Regions from separate parts of the Homo sapiens genome. Here regions 2, 3 and 4 are each linked to region 1. The links are contacts of gene promoters, found by promoter capture Hi-C in human tissues and cell types (Jung and others, 2019). All regions are on one chromosome and are shown on one strand. The core of a region is centred on a gene start or on the middle of the fragment in contact, and the rest is flanking DNA. Distances in the headings are between cores, read along the strand shown.

Region 1 (2,711 bases), core at 9-2,508:
CAAATCCATTTTCTCCAACATCCAATCTGTCCCGGAGAAGGCATCCTCTGCAAAACATTTGAGTGATGGGGCCAAGTGAGTCAGATACAAAGGTAGGAGGCCCCTAACCCTAGATCCCACCAGGACGATGTGGTGGTGGCCCACTCACCCTTGCTGTTGTTGGAGGGACTGACCAACCCATCCACAGCCAGCCATTCGGAGGAGCCCGCCTTAGCCTTGTCGCTGGAGAACCCATGAGGTTTGAAGTGCTTGGCCACCTCCAGGTAATCATCTAAGAGACCTAGGCTTTCTTCAGCCCCCAAACCCGACTGGTCGAAGGGGGACATCAAGTCCCCCACCAACACCTCGCTGCTCAGGAAGCTCATTTCGGTCATGTTGCGGTGCTTTGCTGGAATCGAGGAATGTGCTTAATTCGAAGGTGTCTTTGTCGGTTACAGCAACGCTGCTGCTGAATGCCGTGAGAAGCCTGAATGAGAATCAGAAGCCAACTCCCATTAGAGGTTAGCTGTTCTGAGAATTTCATCCTTCCACTTATGAGGCGGGACTTCTCTAGATCGGCCATCTAGAGAATCGGGAACAGGGCAGTTGTATTTGCCCCTCCCTGCTTGCAACTCAGGTTCCACAAAATGGACGCTCACGGAGACCAGGGGATTCTTCCACCGGCCGCCAAGAGGAAAGCGCTCCGTCCCCACGTCCAAATACGGCCAGGGCGGCCGCGCCCCGCCCACCGCCCGCCCTTGACTCACGCCCGCGCCGCCGCCCTGCCGCCGCCATCTTGGTTCCTGCCACGTTTCGTGGGGCAACAGCCAAGACCCCTGGGACCCTTGCGGGGCTCGGGGTCCGAGGGCTGTAGGGCTCCTGGGGAAGCAGTCCGGGCACCCGACTACGCTTTCCCGATCCCAGGCACGCGAGCGTCTCGGGGACACCCAAGCAAAGACCACGCGTCCCGGGCGCTCGTTAAATCGCTTCCCCCTTGGCGGCACCGCCCTGGCCCCAGGCCGCACCCCACCAATCCAAAACCCGCGCCGGCCCCAGGAGCACAGCTGGACGACCCGCCCCGGTACTCACGCCATGGCTTAAGCCGCTGGGGGTTGCCGCTGCAGAGCCTGGTGCTGCTGCCGCCGCTGCAAAGGCCAATGCTGCCGCAGGCACTGCTGCCCCTAATACGCCATGGTGGCCGTGGACCCTGAGGGCGGGGAGGAGGGAAAACGCACACGCGCAGAGAAAACTACATCTGTGGGCGGGCAAAGTAGAAATGGCTGCCGTGGCCGCCCGCCGGCCCTTTATAGACTTCGTCTCTATGGGGACGCAGCACAGACGCATCCTTCCGCCGCGACCACGTGACCGTCTCCTCCCGCCCGCTCCCTTCCCTCCCTCCCTTTGACGCCCCAACCGTTTATGCCCAGGGCGTAGCTGTGACGAGAAAAGGAGTTTGTTCTTATGGCCTCACGAAAGGAGAGAGGTGTACTACTTTACTAGGCTTCTATGATCAGAGTCCGTTCTTTCCTTCGCCGCCGGAGCGCGGAGTGATCTCCCAGACACGCCTCGCTTCCGGTGTCAGCGCAGTGGGCGGGGAAAGGTCGTTTTCCGGCGAAGAGTTTTTATTGTGAAGGCCGAGGACGCCAGGTTATCGCGCGAGGTGCTGGCGAAGAGCGCGCGTCAAGGTGATTGGCCCAGGCCCGGTGAATCATATATATCTCGAGCTCTTATTGGCTCAGGGCCCTAGATGGGCGGCTGCTGGGAGAGGGATCCCGGGGTCCGCGTGGGAAGGGTTGGGGTCTCGGGTCGCTGCTAGTCCTCAGCCAGCCCCGCCTGCTGGCCCGCCACGATCGCGCTGGCTCCTGCCCCCAGGCGGCCTTAGCCCAGCGCACCCCTTAGTGGCCTCAGGGACCAGCCCTTGCGGTCGGATCCCGCCGCCCTCAGTGGAGGTCCGCACTGGTGGCCCCGCCGCCGCTCCCAGCCTGCGCGTCCTTCGGTTGCGGGTGGTGATTTGTGGCCTGCGGAAACCGGGGGGTTACCTGTTCCAAGCCTGAGTTTTCCAGAGGCCCCATTCATAGCCGACACGGCGCTGCTGCCCCCGGGAGGTTGAAGGGGCCTCGAGAGGGCGCGCCGGGCCTGTCCACCTACCCCCAAAGGCCGGCTGAGTCTGCATGGCTCCTCCTAAACTCTGGAAAGGAGCCGGGAAGACGCGCCGTCCTGTCGCCCAACCTGGGTTTTTACAATTTTCATCCGGCTCAAGTGCAAGGCTGCCACAGAATAGCATCATAGAGGAACTTCTGGTGTCCGAAGATTGCGTTCTCCTAAGAACAAGATTTTCTTCGCTGCCGTCTCCCTGGGGTAGTTCGGATTCACTCCGGATTCTGAACTCCCCGGCCTAACCCGCTTTTCAGCAGTCACGCCCATGGCCCAGGGAGGAGAGGCGCTTGGGAACCCACGGCCACTTACTGGGGGTTGTGCGTTGGGAAGGGGTAGTCTGTTTTAAGAATACAAGAAACCTCCCCATCATCCTTCAGCCCCTTCCAGTCAGGCCCTGTGAAGGTGGAAACTTTGAGTTTCCGCCTCCATTTCACTGGGCCACACAAGTATGAGCGCTGTGATATCAAACAACCAGGGAAGCACTGCTCTAAATAACCACAGGCCATCTGCTGCGCTCATTCAACCTCGCCCACAAATCCTTTCCAATGGTAAACCGAGGCCCAATGGGATGAAGC
Region 2 (2,801 bases), core at 67-2,566, 390 kb after region 1:
GTGGGGCAGTTTTATAGGACTGGGGTAAGCAGTGGAAAGTTACAGTGAAAGGTGGTTAGCTATTGTCAGCAGGGGAGGGGGTCACAAGGTGCCTGTTGGGGAGATCATAATACTCATTGTCCGGAAGAAGGTCACCAGGTCGATCAGTTGGGGCAGGGCAGGAACAAGCCATAATGGACCTGCAGGCCATCTGGATGTATATGTGCAGGTCACAGGGGTTACAATGGCTGAGCTGCAGCTCAGAGGCCAGACAGTGGTGTCCCCACTGTGCTGAAGAAAGAGCTTCAGCCCCTGGCAATGCCTGGGGTTTAGGTCCCAGGTCTGCTGGTCACCGGCCATAATCTCGGACAAGTCTTTCCCTTCGCTGAGACCCCAGATGGACAGAGAATTCACTGAGGTGACGGGAACAGGAAACTGCGGGTGTCTCTGGGTGAGGCCATCACCATGGTCCGTAGTGTGTCATCAGAGGCCTGGAAGTGCTTCTGGCACCTTTTATCTGCTTCTCCCCAAGAGTCCTTTATTCCAGAACCTTGGAGGGGTGAGCATCGCAGGTCTCTGCAACGGCAGATTCCGGATCGCAGGACTGTCATGGGGCTAACGCTCACCTACTGTGTGTTCAGCCAAGCTTAGCACACACATCTGAACGTTGAGACAGGTGGTCAGAGCCAAGGGCAAGTCCTGGGAGCACGTCTGCATTTCAGTGCATCATGGGCTGCAGGACAGAGGCTAGGCTGGAGCAGGCAGGGCTGATGGTGGGGAGAAGAGTTAAACAGTCTGTTGTAGCCATGCAGGTGGAAGGGGATGGTGGCCGCAACTGTGGACATGTCAGTGAAAGAGAAACAGATAGACTGGGGATAGGTTTAGGTGGTGGAAGCGTCAAGATGTGGCCACTGAATTGATGAAAGTGAGGGATCAAGAATATGCCTGGGACCTGGCACAATGGCTCATGCCTATAATCCCAGCACTTGGGGAGGCTGAGGTGAGCGGATCACCTGAGGTCAGGAGTTTGAGACCAGCCTGACCTATATGGTGAAACCCTGTCTCTACTAAAAATGCAAAAATTAGCCGGGCACCTATAATCACAGCTACTCTGGAGGCTGAGGCAGGAGAATCTCTTGAACCCAAGAGGTGGAGGTTGCAGTGAGCCAAGATCGCCACTGCACTCCAGCCTGGAGACTCCATCTCGAAAAAAAAAAAAAGGGGGGGAGGGGGATATTGGACACAAACACATGCTGTGAGATGACTGTGTGAAGACAGAGATGCCATCCATAAGCCAGGAAGAGAGGCCTACATCAGAGCCTTCTCTCCAAGCTCAGAAGGAACCAACCCTGCTGACCTTTGATCCTGGACTTCAGCCTCCACAACTGTGAAAGGATACATTTCTGTTGTTTAAGCTTCCTGGTCTGTGGGAGCTTATTATGGCAGCCGTAGCAAGCTGATGCAGCGTCCATGAGAACAGAGTCTAAGGCAGGGACTTGGGTGCAGGTAGTTTATTTGGGAGGGGGTTCTAGGAAGCAAGAGTGGAGACAGGGCCAGGGGAGGAGGGAAAGCCAGGGTAAGGGCACATTATTGAGGTGGGTGCTGTGGGAACAGGAGTTTGATTCCACCTGGACTTTCGGGGAAGGGTTCGAAACGCCTCCCGAAATTGTCCGTCCAACTGGGGATAGGAATCTATAGCCACTCTCCCATCCTTCCCATCCCATTACTGAAGCTGCTCTGGCGTGTTGACTTCGTGCACTTCTCAGCTGGGTCCATGCAGAGGCCAAGGCACCCCCACCTGGCATCCAAATTACCCACTAGGCAGAAAGTGAAGACTGGACCCTGGCCATGGCTAAAGGCAGAGATGAGGATGGCAGGGTGAGAGCTGAGCAAGTGGAAACACCTGGCAGAGGAAGGCGTGGCCGGGCTGGTTTCACTGAGTTCAGAGTGTGTGTGGGTTGGCAGTACAGGCAGCTCTAACACAGTGTCATACACCAGAACACAGATATTCATTTCTCACAGTTCTGGGGGCCGGGAAGTCCAAGACCAAGATGCCGGCAGATACAGTATCTGGCGAGGGTCACCTTCTCACTGTGTCTTTACCTGGCAGAGAGAGGATGCTTTGATGTCTCTTTCTTTTCTTCTAAGAATGCTAATACCATCATGGGGGCCCCACCCTCATGGCCTCAAGTAAATCTAAAGACCTCTCAAAGGCCCCACCTCCAAATAACGTCACACTGGGGCCTAAGGCTTCAACATAAGAATTTGCGGTGGGTGATGAGAGGGTGGACACACACACAGACATTCAGTCCATGATACAGGTGTTGAGGTAGAGTGGTCCCACAAGCAGTTCACAAACAGTTCTGAAGCTTAGGGGAGAAAAACACATTTGGTAGAATCGTGCAGTGGCACGATTTCAGCTCACTGCAACTCCACCTCCCGGGTTCATGCCATTCTCCTGCCTCAGCCTCCTGAGTAGCTGGGACTACAGGTGCCTGCCACCACACCCAGCTAATTTTTTGTATCTTTTTTAGTAGGGACGGGATTTCACCATGTTAGCCAGGATGGCCTCAATCTCCTGACCTCGTGATCCACCCGCCTGGGACTCCCAAAGTGCTGGGATTACAGGCACAAGCCACTGTGCCCAGCCTTTTTTTTTTTTTTTTTTTGAGACGGAATCTCCCTCTGTCATCCAGGCTGAAGTGCAATGGCGTGATCTCGGCTCACTACAACCTCTGCCTTCCAGGTTCAAGCGATTCTCCCGCCTCAGCCTCCTGAGTAGCTGGAATTACAGGCACGCACCACCATGCCTGTATTTTTAG
Region 3 (2,703 bases), core at 15-2,514, 510 kb after region 1:
CAGCTGCCTGGACGTCCCTGGGCTCTGGGCCTCCCCCATCCCTCCACAGCCCTGAGAATGTCTGCTGCTTTCCCAGGCAGGAAGACGGGGAGAGAGAAAGAGGAGGGGACGCTGGCAGGGGCAGCAGGGCCGGGGTGACCTCTCCTAGCTGGAACCCCAGCTCTGGGGCTACCAATGGAACACCCTCAACCTCCCAGTTTTTCTGCTACTTTTTTTTTTTTTTTTTTAAAGACGGCATCTCGCTCTGTCCCCCAGGCTGGAGTTTGCAATCTCAGCTCACTGCAACCTCCACCCCTCGGGTTCAAGGGATTCTCCTGCCTCAGCCTCCCAAGTAGCTGGGATTACAGACGCCCGCCAGCACCCCTGGCTAATTTTCTGTATTTTCAGTAGAGACGAGGTTTCACCATGTTAGTCAGGCTGGTCTCAAACTCCTGACCACAAGTGACCCGCCCGCCTCAGCCTCCCAAAGTGCTAGGATTACAGGCATAAGCCACCGTGCCTGGCCTAAAATAAGAGCATTTCTCCTGATCATCATATTTTTTCCTACACTCCATGTTGCAGGTGTCATTCTGAAAGGTGAACGGTGCTCACAGAGGAGGAGCCTGTGTCTGGGGTCGTGTGCATCCTACTCTGCTCACAGTGGAGGCATCTTTGGAAGAAGTGACTTATTTTCTGGTACAGAGACCATTCCCTCCCCCACACCCTCTCCTAAGACTTTGTATTGAAACAAAGTAAATCTTACAGAAATTGCACCAAAGCGCTGAGAACAAAATGCCTGATTGCTCAAATCATCCTTTGGTTCAATTCTCCCAGTTCCAGAGCTCCCAGGAATAGTGGGAAGCACACAGAGGAAGCACCCTCCCAGGGCGGGAAGCACCAGCCCGGGCATGATTTTCGGGGGAGAGTCTCAGCAGGCGGACTGGGCTGGGGCAAGTGGGGAAGGTGGCCCATTCAGAAGCAGCAGTCGTGGGACCACACAGCAGGGCAAGGAGCTTGGCTGGGAGTGGGGGCAGCGGGGGAACCAGGGGGGAGGGAGCCCAGAGGTGGGGCTGGGGCAGGGGGAGGCCAGGGCTGAGGCCCAGCAGGACCGCCTGGCAGGAAGTGGCAGGAGGGGCCTGGCGGACAAAGCGTGCAGAGGTACCTGATCTGTGGATTCATGTTCAGCCTCTTAGATATGCTTGTCCCTGTCCCACTCTTTTCTGAAGCGCTGTGGCTTCTCTTCCTGCTTACAGCGTCCTTGCAGTTGAGCAGCCCTCTTTAAAGTGACCTCCCAGGGCCTTGTGAATCATGGCCCCTCCCCATTCCTGCTCAGGCACTGGTGTGGGAGGCCCCGGGGTGCTTCATGTTTCTCTGGCTCTGGCCCTCTTTCTGGTTTTCTCCGGGCCCCTCCTACTGGCAGAGGAACCTCCGATAAAGACAGGCTGCTCTGTCTTTATCTGTCCTGGGCAGGACCCAACGGAACTGCAAAAAGAAGAGAAAGAGAAAGAGAAAGGCATTGCAGCCTGAGCCTGGGACGCGGGTCCAGACCCAGCTGAGAGAGGGGCAGGTGCCCCGTTGCCTGGTGGTTGGGCAGGCTGGAGCCCCCTCTCCACCACCCCCTCCCCAGCCCTAATGTGTGCCCAGAGCTTTGAGCAGCACCACCCTGTTGAGTGAGGGGAGGTTTTGAGACCCCAGTGGGGAAGGAAGTGTGGACTCCGCACAGCACAAGCGAAGGCTTAGGTGTGCCTCGAGTTCCCAGCTGTGTGCTGAGTCCATCGCACGCATCCCCTCTTCCAACCTCCCAGCTTCCAGAAGGTGGGGGGCAGTTCAGCCCCTCAGAGATGTGGGCGGAGGATTACCTAGGTGCTGAGGCAAGAGACTGAAGGCACAAACTGTTTCAGTATAATAAAGAATATACTTACAATAAGAATAGTTATAATACAAATTAGATACAGAGATGATCATGGACATTATCAATCATTAGTGTAGATATTATTAATCATTAGCTTTTAATATTACTCTTTATTGTATTACTAATATAACCAAGAAATAACCGGTGGGTATAGGGTCAGGTGCTGAAGGGCTGTTGTGAGAAGTGACCGAGAATGCAAGAGGTGAGCCCTCTGTCACACCCGCATAAGGGCTACTGGAGGGCTCCTTGGTCAGGCGGTAACGCCAGTGCCTAGGAAGGCATCGTTACTTAGCGGACCACGAAAGGGAGTCTCCCTTTTCTTGGAGGAGTCAGGGAACGCTCAGCTCCACCAGCTTCTTGTGGGAGGCTGGATAGTATCCAGGCCTGCCTGCAGCCATCCGGAGGCCTAAACCCCTCCCTGTGATGCTGTGCTTCAATGGTCACGCTCCTTGTCCACTTTCCTCCTGTACTCCTGGTCCCTCTTTGAAGTTCTCAGAAGATAGCGGTAGAAGAAATAGTGAAAGTCTTAAAGTCTTTGATCTTTCTGATAGGTGCATAGAAGAAAACGCTGACGTATACTGCCTTCCCTCTCTGCTTCGGCTACCTATAAGGGAAGGGCCCCCTGTCCTATGATCACGTGACTTGCTCGACCTTATCAATCACTTGGACGACTCACCCTCCTTACCCTGCCCCCCTTGTCTTGTATGCAATAAATAACAGTGCACGCAACCATTTGGGGCCACTACCCATCTCCGTGTCTTGATGGTAGTGGTCCCCCGGGCCCAGCTGTTTTCGCTTTATCTCTTTGTCTT
Region 4 (2,720 bases), core at 221-2,720, 280 kb after region 1:
GGTCTTGCTCTGTTGCCCAGGCTGGAGTGCAGTGGCACAGTCACAACTCACTGCAGCCTCAAACTCCTGGGCTCAAAACGATCCACAGTCTCCTGAGTAGCTGGGACTACAGGAGCTTGTTACCACACCCAGCTCCAGTTTATAAATTCATCTCCAGTTTATAAAGGAGGAAACCGAGGTACTGAGAGGTTAAAAAACCTTCCTGCAGACACTTGTCCAGCAAGTGGCCACTCCAGGATTTGGACCAAGGTGATGTGTCTTCAGGCTGTGTCTCTGCCACTGTGCCACGCTGCTGGGTGGTAGGCAGCAGTGGGTGGGTGCCTGCAGTGGTCTGTAAAGACCACCTGAGATGTCCTTCCTCCTCTGTTCCACCCTGTCCAGGTCCAAGAAGACAGTCTATGAAGAGAGAGCAGGTGTGACTCTCTCAGTGTGCTCCTCTGTGAGAAGCAGGCTGACATCCCAAAGGGAAGGGCGGATAACAGAGACAGTGCAAGCGGAGGAGATGAGGGTGCCTCAAAGCCGGGAGGCTGGGTGATGCAGGAGCCTGCGTGTCCCGAGGGGGGTGCTGGGCCCAGTGTGAGTACGTGTGACTGTGACTGAGACAGTGTGACTGCTGAAGGCAGGGACACAGCAGCTCCCTGACTGGGGGCAGAAGGCGTTAACTGTGTGAAGGCTGGTTGTGGGTGGGTGGGCTCTGGGCCTCGAACCCGGGGGCTGAGGGAGATAGTAAACAGCAGGGTGACTGACGGGAAGATCATGTTGGTAGCCCTGCGAAGATGCTGCAGGGCTGTGGGGGTTTGTGTGACTTTGCAGTTCAACAAATTCAAATTCAGCCAACGCTGGCAGGGCCTGTTGTGCCAGGCAACCAGCTAGGAGGAGGAGACTCGGACCCAGCTTGCAGCTGAAGGGCGCTGGCTGCCGGGTTCTGTGGGTTCACCTTGCGGTGTCTTCCCTTGCTAACACTGAGTCCTTACAATAGCCCCATCTCCAGGTTGAGGCTAGATGGAGGGGACAGAGGGAAGTGACTTGCCCAAGGTGACCCAAGCTCCCGAGTGCCAGGGCAGGATCTGAATTCAGGCTCTCAGACTGCAGAGCCTGAGTCCCTCCCTGCCATGCCTGTGCCAGGGTGGAAATGTCTGGTCCTGGAGGGGAGCGTGGACTCCTGGCCTTGGCTCTGGAGACATCCCCCTAGACCACGTGGGCTCCTAACCTGTCCATGGTCACTGTGCTGAGGGGCGGGACGGTGGGTCACCCCTAGTTCTTTTTTCCCCAGGGCCAGATTCATGGACTGAAGGGTTGCTCGGCTCTCAGAGACCCCCTAAGCGCCCCGCCCTGGCCCCAAGCCCTCCCCCAGCTCCCGCGTCCCCCCCCTCCTGGCGCTGACTCCGGGCCAGAAGAGGAAAGGCTGTCTCCACCCACCTCTCGCACTCTCCCTTCTCCTTTATAAAGGCCGGAACAGCTGAAAGGGTGGCAACTTCTCCTCCTGCAGCCGGGAGCGGCCTGCCTGCCTCCCTGCGCACCCGCAGCCTCCCCCGCTGCCTCCCTAGGGCTCCCCTCCGGCCGCCAGCGCCCATTTTTCATTCCCTAGATAGAGATACTTTGCGCGCACACACATACATACGCGCGCAAAAAGGAAAAAAAAAAAAAAAAGCCCACCCTCCAGCCTCGCTGCAAAGAGAAAACCGGAGCAGCCGCAGCTCGCAGCTCGCAGCTCGCAGCCCGCAGCCCGCAGAGGACGCCCAGAGCGGCGAGCGGGCGGGCAGACGGACCGACGGACTCGCGCCGCGTCCACCTGTCGGCCGGGCCCAGCCGAGCGCGCAGCGGGCACGCCGCGCGCGCGGAGCAGCCGTGCCCGCCGCCCGGGCCCCGCGCCAGGGCGCACACGCTCCCGCCCCCCTACCCGGCCCGGGCGGGAGTTTGCACCTCTCCCTGCCCGGGTGCTCGAGCTGCCGTTGCAAAGCCAACTTTGGAAAAAGTTTTTTGGGGGAGACTTGGGCCTTGAGGTGCCCAGCTCCGCGCTTTCCGATTTTGGGGGCCTTTCCAGAAAATGTTGCAAAAAAGCTAAGCCGGCGGGCAGAGGAAAACGCCTGTAGCCGGCGAGTGAAGACGAACCATCGACTGCCGTGTTCCTTTTCCTCTTGGAGGTTGGAGTCCCCTGGGCGCCCCCACACGGCTAGACGCCTCGGCTGGTTCGCGACGCAGCCCCCCGGCCGTGGATGCTCACTCGGGCTCGGGATCCGCCCAGGTAGCGGCCTCGGACCCAGGTCCTGCGCCCAGGTCCTCCCCTGCCCCCCAGCGACGGAGCCGGGGCCGGGGGCGGCGGCGCCCGGGGGCCATGCGGGTGAGCCGCGGCTGCAGAGGCCTGAGCGCCTGATCGCCGCGGACCCGAGCCGAGCCCACCCCCCTCCCCAGCCCCCCACCCTGGCCGCGGGGGCGGCGCGCTCGATCTACGCGTCCGGGGCCCCGCGGGGCCGGGCCCGGAGTCGGCATGAATCGCTGCTGGGCGCTCTTCCTGTCTCTCTGCTGCTACCTGCGTCTGGTCAGCGCCGAGGTGAGTTGCCACGGCGGCTGGGGCTGGTTCTTCATTCATTACCTTCGCCCCCCCCTTCTGACCGCCCCCTCCTCTCCCTGCAGTGAACTTTGGACCCTTGCAGCCCGCGAGCCTGACGCCGGGCGCTGGGTGACCTCTTCGGGCTGGGAGCGAGGTCCGGGGGTGACAG

The links. The method cuts DNA at HindIII sites, captures the fragments that hold promoters and counts their contacts. A contact is called where the count stands out against the background at its distance.
Region 2: a fragment that was not itself captured here is called in contact with the fragment with the promoter of ATF4 in region 1 in 2 of the 25 tissues and cell types used here (aorta and lymphoblastoid cells).
Region 3: a contact is called between the fragment with the promoter of APOBEC3C here and the fragment with the promoter of ATF4 in region 1, in 1 of the 25 tissues and cell types used here (lymphoblastoid cells).
Region 4: the fragment with the promoter of PDGFB here is called in contact with the fragment with the promoter of ATF4 in region 1 in 1 of the 25 tissues and cell types used here (mesenchymal stem cells).

What each region holds. Positions count from the first base shown.
Region 1 is chr22:39,519,109-39,521,819 of GRCh38, reverse strand. It overlaps ATF4 (activating transcription factor 4), which reads right to left and starts at 1,258. Exons shown (of 3, transcript NM_182810.3): 1 at 1,069-1,258; 2 at 149-466; 3 at 1-47. The coding sequence starts at 374. RefSeq lists enhancers at 781-830, 1,191-1,340 and a silencer at 1,721-1,920. The HindIII fragment of the contact is 4,198 bases long and covers 1-2,711 here.
Region 2 is chr22:39,127,830-39,130,630 of GRCh38, reverse strand. No RefSeq gene overlaps it. Among named protein-coding and RNA genes, the nearest start is that of CBX7, 23 kb to the left of the region's middle. RefSeq lists a silencer at 1,933-1,982. The HindIII fragment of the contact is 3,322 bases long and covers 1-2,801 here.
Region 3 is chr22:39,012,818-39,015,520 of GRCh38, reverse strand. APOBEC3C (apolipoprotein B mRNA editing enzyme catalytic subunit 3C) reads right to left here and starts at 1,264. Exons shown (of 4, transcript NM_014508.3): 1 at 1,142-1,264. The coding sequence starts at 1,158. RefSeq lists a silencer at 974-1,023 and enhancers at 1,134-1,243, 816-1,433, 1,163-1,457, 1,434-2,052. The HindIII fragment of the contact is 14,453 bases long and covers 1-2,703 here.
Region 4 is chr22:39,243,732-39,246,451 of GRCh38, reverse strand. PDGFB (platelet derived growth factor subunit B) reads left to right here and starts at 1,470. Exons shown (of 7, transcript NM_002608.4): 1 at 1,470-2,551. The coding sequence starts at 2,489. The HindIII fragment of the contact is 11,810 bases long and covers 1-2,720 here.